2 separate regions of the Homo sapiens genome follow, and region 1 is linked to region 2. Evidence: promoter capture Hi-C in human tissues and cell types (Jung and others, 2019). All regions are on one chromosome and are shown on one strand. Each heading gives the region's core, a stretch centred on a gene start or on the middle of the fragment in contact. The rest is flanking DNA. Distances are from core to core; before and after follow the strand shown.

The links. The method cuts DNA at HindIII sites, captures the fragments that hold promoters and counts their contacts. A contact is called where the count stands out against the background at its distance.
Region 1: a contact is called between a fragment that was not itself captured here and the fragment with the promoter of NOLC1 in region 2, in 4 of the 25 tissues and cell types used here (H1 embryonic stem cells, dorsolateral prefrontal cortex, liver and 1 more).

The regions. Positions count from the first base shown.
Region 1 is chr10:102,263,844-102,267,797 of GRCh38, reverse strand. The region is part of intron 3 of GBF1 (golgi brefeldin A resistant guanine nucleotide exchange factor 1); the gene reads right to left. Among named protein-coding and RNA genes, the nearest start is that of GBF1, 20 kb to the right of the region's middle. The HindIII fragment of the contact is 6,652 bases long and covers 1-3,954 here.
Region 2 is chr10:102,149,949-102,154,253 of GRCh38, reverse strand. It overlaps NOLC1 (nucleolar and coiled-body phosphoprotein 1), which reads right to left and starts at 1,865. Exons shown (of 13, transcript NM_004741.5): 1 at 1,724-1,865. The coding sequence starts at 1,843. PPRC1 (PPARG related coactivator 1) reads right to left here. Exons shown (of 14, transcript NM_015062.5): 14 at 3,921-4,305. The coding sequence ends at 4,225. RefSeq lists enhancers at 1,755-1,804, 1,975-2,274, 1,180-2,379. The HindIII fragment of the contact is 9,767 bases long and covers 1-4,305 here.

The DNA.
Region 1 (3,954 bases), core at 574-3,073, 110 kb before region 2:
GCCTTTCCTAACACTCAGCCCTTCACAAAATTTGTCTGCCAAATTTTATCACATTTGGTTCTTTTAGTTCCTACTTAGGCCTTGAACAATTCACAAGCTCAATTCCAAGTGGAACAAAAGCTGATGACCCATTCAACCTTCTTCTCATGCTGATTAATAATGATATATTACTTTACTCCCTAAACTATAGACCCCTGTAGGAAAAAATAAAAGTAGGCACTTAATCAATAGGACTCCAGCAAATTTTTTTCATATAACATACTCGCTTTTGTTGTTGTTGTTGTTGTTGTTGTTGAGATGGAGTCTTGATCTGCCACCCAGGCTGGAGTGCAGTGGCACGATCTCAGCTCACTGCAATCTCACCTCCTGGGTTCAAGCAATTCACCTGCTTCAGCCTCCTGAGTAGCTGGGACTACAGGCATGCGCCACCGCACCTGGCTAATTTTTGTATTTTTAGTAGAGACAGGGTTTCACCATGTTGGCCAGGCTGGTCTCGAACTGCTGACCTCAAGTCATCCACCCGCCTTAGCCTCCCAAAGTGCTGGGATTACAGGTGTGAGCCACCATGCCTGGCACATATAATATACTCTTATTCAATCTTTTTCCTGACAATGACTACTAAAATCTCTTTTCTCTACACCTCCCCATTTTCCAAATGAAACAGATTAAACTTGAGGTATCAGGCATTCTCAAACAGTTTCTTTTCTACCTAAGCGGCTACTGCTAAGAGGCCCAGGCCAGACAGGTGTTAAGTCATAGTTCCTCCCAAGTTGGCTTCCAGACTCTGTTTAAATGTTCTCTGCAAACCTCTGGAGGTTAGATGGACTCAAACCTCCTAGCTCAGACTCTGAATTCACAAAGCTTGAGACAGACAGTACCCTACAGGTGTGTTTGTCCAGGATAAACTATACTTAAATAAACTCCTGACACATCCACTTTCTCCTGGCACGTGCTTCTCCCTCTTAAACTCAAGCACGCCATAACCTGCTGTCCCAGTAAGCTCTGTAAAGAAATATCCTATCCCCCAGAATTACGCTATGCAACCCACCAATGTCTTTGGGAATAGCTAAACTCTGGCCATAACAGCTTTACATGTGAAAGCCAAATAAGCAAATATGAGCTATTGTTTTTACTTATTTCTTTGGCTTGTTCCTTAAGGAAAGAGCAGGAATAAGAAAAGCTGGCAGCAGATTGCTCTCACTCATGGTCATCCATTCCATGCCTGATAGGGACCATATAGCATAAAGTAGAGGCTACAAAATGTTAGCTTTGGAATGATCAGCTAGAGTCATTAGTCCTGTCAAACCAGTGGCTATGAGGGCAGGAAGTCTGACTGATTGTTTACCATTACAGACCCACTTCCTAAGTACCTAAGAAAAATGCCTGGCACATACCAGATAGTCAATAAATATCAGTTAGAAGCAACTCAATAAGCTAGGCCCTGAAGGAATCCAAATCTTGGAGAATCCCCAAAAGAAAAGGTCTAAGAAGCTAGAACAATGTTATAGTTAATATGGGTACCTATACTGGGCCTCAAGACCACCTTAGTTTTTTTTTTTGAGACAGAGTATCGCTCTGTCACCCAGGCTGGAGTGCAGTGGCACGATCTCGGCTCACTGCAAGCTGCGCCTCCCAGGTTCAGGCCATTCTCCTGCCTCAGCCTCCCGAGTAGCTGGGACTACAGGCGCCTGCCACCATGCCCGACTAATTTTTTGTATTTTTTTAGTAGAGACGGGGTTTCACCGTGTTCGCCAGGATGGTCTCAATCTCCTGACCTCGTGATCTGCCCGCCTCGGCCTCCCAAAGTGCTGGGATTACAGGCGTGAGCCACCGCACCCGGCCCTCCACCTTAGTCTTACACTGAGAACCCCAGTCCTGATAACCAAAACTGGACATTAGGTCCTCAGAGCTAAAAAGACCTGGGACTAAATCTCCAAAGGCAAACTCCTCACCACCACACCCTCACACGCACATAGACACACGCACACCCTAAGAAGTCTTCCTCAAGCCCTGGCCCTGAAGGCTTTAAAGTAAGTCATTAAAAGATGATCCCATAAGAGAAGATTTTGGTTGTGATACTTTCTTTCATTCATTCATTCATTCATTCATTCATTGAAAGGGTCTCACTCTTGTCACTCAGGCTAGAGTACAGTGGCGCAATCATGGGTCACTGTAACCTCGAACTCCTGGGCTCAAGTGATCCTCTCGCCTCAGCCTAAGTAGCTGGAACTACAGTTGTACGCCACCATACCCAACTAATTTTTTTTATTTTTATTTTTGTAGAGATGGGGGGAATCTTGGTATGTTGCCCATGCTGGTCTCGAACTCCCAGCCTCAAGTAATCCTGCTGTCTTGGCCACCCAAAGTGCTAGATTACAGATGTGGGTCACTGCACCTAGCCTGGTTGTGATACTTTTAGACTGTTCCTCTCCTGTTTTAAACCAAAAATTTTCTGGAAAAGAATCTCTTTGTAATGATCTAAGTTTAAAGACCAAGGACAAAGACAGACTATATCTGGAGGCAAATGACTACAACCAAACACCACAACTCACAACTGACTATAGCCCTTTCCATAAAGCTATACTGGATGAAGGGAACTAAGGCTTGCAAGAATTTATCTAGTCTGGGAACAAAGAGATCAAAGACCACAGACCATATTGGCTAGAAGCATTCCCATAAACTGTCTACTCTTGTCAGATCTAAAACCAAGAGCAATATCAAGTATCCTGATATTTCACTTTCCCTTCCATGCCCCATCCCATGCCACAGATCCTACCACAAGGTCTAGCTGCGAGACTGAAGATAACTCCCATATGCAAGAGCCCCAAAAGATTCTTAGAAGAATAAAAGGAAATGTGTCTTTGGAATCTAAACCCATGGCAGGGCTTGGGCAGATGTAAGAGAGAGGCAGTGGCCCTTCTGCCCCTAAGGCCAGGACACCCCAGCCCTGCAGGCAGCACAGAGTTAACTACCCACCCGCTCTGAGAAGCACAAAGGTACATCACTGCAACATGCCTAACATTTACATTGCCTCTCTCTGCTCATTAAACAGGTTTTGGTTAAATAATGAACAAACTGTATTACAGACTCCAATGAGAATTCCAAAATTATAAATCAACTGGGAAAGCCCAAAGGGGCAGACAGACAGGGAGGGGGGAGAAGGATAATATTGACTAATATAAAGGGCGCAGCTTGACAGTGGATATTCCTGCCACACCTGATCAAACACACTCCGTGGGGGGAGGGGAAAGAGAGCAAGAGAGGGAAGATGGGACAAGACAGCCTGAAATTTGCATCCGGAAAAGATTAAAACGGATTCTTTGGGGATAGAGAAAATACATAATATATATTACTATAAATGCAAAACTGTACTAAAAGCTAACTCAAATGTCAAAGATTACAGTTTGAATAAATTTAAATATAAAAGCCATGTGCTTCCTTGAGTTAATGAGAGAGACATAAAAGGACAAACTGGGCCAGAAGCTGAACAGAGCCTTATGCTGCCTTTGCTGGGTAATGGGTCCAAAGCACAGCAGTGACTACAGAGACTTCCCTCCACAGTTCTGAGACCTGAGAAAAAACTGGCAAATCCATCACTTCTGCAGCCTACATTTGCCTCCTTTATAAACTGAGATATGATTCACATACTATAAAATTATCCTTTTCAAGTATACAATTCAGTGGTTTCTTGTATACTCACAAAGTTGTGCAACCATCGCTACTATCTAATTCTAGAACATTTTCATTACCCCAAAAAGGAACCCTGTAGCCATTAGCAGTCACTCTCCATACCCCCTCCCAGCCCCTGGTAACCACACATCTGTTTTAACTCCTTCAGAATAATCTAAAAGGAGTCCTGAGAGGACTTCAAGACCAAATGAGGGACAGCAGTCAAGTCTCTCTCACTGGTGGTAAGCTAAAGCTTTATCCAAAGTAACAGTATGCAAACTTTGC
Region 2 (4,305 bases), core at 616-3,115:
AAAAAAAAAAAAAAATTAGCCAGGCATGGTGGGGCACACCTGTAGTCCCAGCTACTTGGGAAGCTGAGGCAGGAGAATCACTTTAGCCTGAGAGGCAGAGGTTGCAGTGAGCTGAGATCGTGCCACTGCACTCCAGCCTGGGCGACAGAGCCAGACTCCGCCTCAAAAAAAAAAAAAAAAAAAATTAAATGCATGTGAAGGGCGTAGCATCTGACCCTTAGTTAGCTCTTCACAAAGATTAGCTTTTCTCACATAAAACCATTTCAGAATCCTAATCCTGAGGCCGGGCACGGTGGCTCGCGCCTGTAATCCCAGCACTTTGAGAGGCTGAGGCAAGTGGATTTCTTGAGGTCAGGAGTTCAAGACCAGCCTGGCCAACATGGTGAAACCTCATCTCTACTAAAAATACAAAAATTAGCCGGGCGTGGTGGTACGCGCCTGTAATCCCAGCTACTGGGGAGGCTGAGGCAGGATAATCACTTGAACTTGGGAGGCGGAGGTTACAATGAGCCGAGATCGCACCATTGCACTCCAGCCTGGGCAACAGAGACTCCGTCTCAAAAAAAAAAAAAAAAAAAAAAGAATCCTAATTCTGAAATGTCCAATTCCATCCAGTCCACTGTGAAAGCACTCTCCGCAGTCTCCTTAACAGTCAACTCTAAACAGTTTCATTAAGAAAGCAGTTAGATCACATGGCAGCCTGTCCCAGCTTAAGGAAGTTTTGAGGCTGATCTGATTCTTTGCTTTCGCAGCCTGATTCTGCTAAAAGTGCAAGCCATCCTTCCTAGTCATGCTATCATCCCTGCTGAAGACCCCCCCTCTCTCCTCTCTCAAAGTGTCTTCCCATGCAGGAATGTCCGTTGATGTAGATTACAAACCTTTCACATTCCTGGTTCTCTTACTCTTACATGTGTTTGGAGCATCCTAAATTGCCATAACTATGGTACAGCTTTCACTTTTACAAGATTCCTCTGTACCAGCACTGAGATTGCTACTCTTACACATCATCTTACTGAAACTCACAAAAATCCTATAAAGTGGATGATGACATCCCTGTAGAAAGACTCAGAAAGGTTAAATAAACTGCCCGGGTCACGTATCTAAAAAGTGGCAGAGCCTGGTCCCAAACCTAGGTTTGTTTGATTCAATTAGCCAAAGCTCCAAGCCCACTACTATGCCTACTTGGTAGGGCTGTTGATGACTCTCAATTCTCAGTGTAACTCAAAACAAAACTCTGCTTCTACTTTCATTCATTTTCTTCTTTACAAACGAAAATCCCAGACTTCATTCTAAAGAAATTTCACTTGCTTTTGAATCCCAGTAAATGTGACTGAGGCTAAGGTCAAATCACGGTTTGCCTCACCCAACGAAAAGCCCCCCAGAAGATGCCGAAGAACCAACGTCCTCAGTGGAACAAGACTCTACCTCCCCGCTGCACTCTGCCAGCCATGTGGCTTGGGGCCACGAGGCTCCCACGCTGCCGCCGCTGCACAGGTCACAAGAAAAAAGCAACAAGACTCAGCGATATCTACTCAGACATGGAGGAAGGTAAGCGACCGAGGCCGCAGGCTTTCTCTGGTCACTGCCGAGGGGTCGGCGTAAAGGCCTTGCAGACACTGGACTGGCGGACCCCCAGACTTCCCCACCTGGAAACCTAAGCACGTCAGGGCCTGAAGCCTTGTGGTCATCTCAGCCCGGTCCCCGCCCCAAGCCCGGAACTCACAGCTCCTGTCGCTTTGGCGAACTTATTGGCCACCTCTGAGAGTTGGTTATCGCGCAGGAAGCCGAGCACGAGGGGATACAGGTCGCTGGGAACCACGCGGCGAATGCCGGCGTCCGCCATCCTCCAGGCAATACGCGTCACTACCGTTGTCGACGCAGCACGACTCAGGAACCCAACAGGGGCAGTGGGCGGGCCTGTGTTACGTCATTGCGCCGCGCGGGCGCATAACGGAAAGGGTGGGCTCCACAGGGCAGTCCCACCTTCACCTCAGAGGTAGGGTAGACGGGAAATCTATAAACTCTTTCCGGTCCCACGCGTATCGCCATCTTGGTTAAGGGCGGAGCCCACCGGCCGCCAGCTTGTGGAGGCGGAGCTCTGACGTCAGGGATCACGCCCTCGGCGTGGCGGGAAAACTCGGGACTTCCCGCGCAGTCTTTCTGGGGGAGGTACCTTTTCTCAGAGCAGCGGTTTCCCGCGCCCCTGCTGGGACTCGGATTCCAGAGTAATGAGTGGACAAGCGGGCTCGAACAGTTGTTCTACAAGATCTCCCAACCGCCCCCATGGCGTACTGGCACGGCCAATGGATTCTCGCCCTTCATCTTCACTGCCTCCAATACCCAGGGAGGCCCTTTCTGATACCATCCCAGCCTCCAGACTCCTGCCTCTGCTGCAGAAGATCCTTCGGGTTATCCGTCGTGAGGGTGGGAGGTGTTGATTTCCCAAGCTGCCCCTCCCATCTCCCTTATATTCCGCCTTAGGTCAGCTCCATGAAGAGGAAAGGTGTCATGCACCAAACCTGAATCACACACAGCAACAATCTATTCAAGCTGAAGAGATTGTTGAAAATAACCCTTCTTCCTCCGGGATCAGAGTTCACACTCTGCCTTTGTCATGAGTAACTCCAGTATCAATGCCTTTGTCATGAGTAACTCCAGTATCAATGCTCAGACCTACCAAGTTAATTCCAAGTTCTGCCACATTCCAGATATTAGCAGTTAGCAATCCCTTCAATCCTACCCACTACCCCTTGGCTACCTCCCACTAATGCCGCTCAGGAAAGATAAGGATCCTCATGGGAACACACCCCCCTCTCCTATATAAAATTGGCCAGGCATAGTGGCTCACAACTGTTATCTCAACACTTTGGAAGGCCTAGGTGGGAGGATCCCTTGAGCCCAGGAGTTAAGAGGCCAGCCTGGACAACACAGTGAAACCCCCCTATCTCTACAAAAAATTTTTAAAATTAGCCAGGTGTAGTGGCATGCACCTGTGGTCCCAGCTACTTGGGAGGCTGGGGCAGGAGGATCAACTGAGCCAGGGAGGTCAAAGCTGCAATGAGCTATGATCCTGCCACTGCAATCCAGCCTGGGCCACAGAGTGAGATCCTATCTCAAAAATCAAAAACAAAGCTGGGCACGGTGGTTCATGCCTGTAATCTCAGCACTTTGGGAGGCTAAGGTGGGTGGATCACCTGAGGTCAGGAGTTCAAGAACAGCCCTGGCCAACATGGTGAAACCCTGTCTCTACTAAAAATACAAAAAAAATTAGCCAGGCATGGTGGCGGGTGCCTGTAATCCCAGCTACTCAGGAAGCTGAGGCAGGAGAATCACTTGAACCCGGGAGGCAGAGGTTGCAGTAAGCCAAAATCGTGCCACTGCACTCCAGCCTGGGAGACAGAACAAGACTCCATCTCCAAAACAAAACAAAAAAATTCAAAAACAGAAACAAAAAACTCCACAGTTCCCTCTTCCCCACGCTTCCTGTTCTACCCACATGCATGCATTATTTAAAACATTTGAGCACCTGCTGTGCCATGCAGTGTGCTCAAGCTATTATAAAATGATGAACATAACTGACATGATGAATGTATACACCTGTCGCAGTTTAGAAAACCTTTCTTTGGAACAAGTGTGAGCTTCTCTAGGTCCTTGTTATCAAAATCCCTTCCTGGACCAGTATCATCATCCCATTGTCAGAATCTACATTCTAAAAAGATCGCTAGATGATTCAAATTCCCTTTAAAGTTGAGAAGCACTGTCCTAAATGACTCATTTTAGACAATACATCTGAGGAACCAAGGTTCAAATCCAGTGGGATTTTTGCACCTGACCAGGGAGAGGCATGTCCCTGGACCATGTTCAGATAGGAAAAGTGAATACATTTGGCATTAGCACCATATAAAGACGCACAACAGCAGTTGGGAGTTCTCTCTAGTTGATGTTTATTAGTCTGCATAGTGACTTATGTTCCAAACACTGGGGATCCCCTCAGCCCCTCCTATCTTACATAGGAATGCAAGTTAACTTGTTTCAATACCTGTTATAAAAAAACAAATACCCCTTTTAAAAAATCTGATTCAACATATTTTTTATTTCACTTTTTTCCATTTCTTTATAAAACAGTCATCTCACTAGCAGCTCTCTCCCCTAGAGTAGGGGAAGGGGGTGGAGGAGGTTGGGCACCTCCAAAGGAGAAAAAGGATAGCAGGGAAGGGCCCAAGGTTACCTCCTGAGGTTCTTCTGGGCCTGTTTCAACAATGTGTCAAAGTCAAGAGAATCAAATTTGCTCTTTACAGGTGCTGG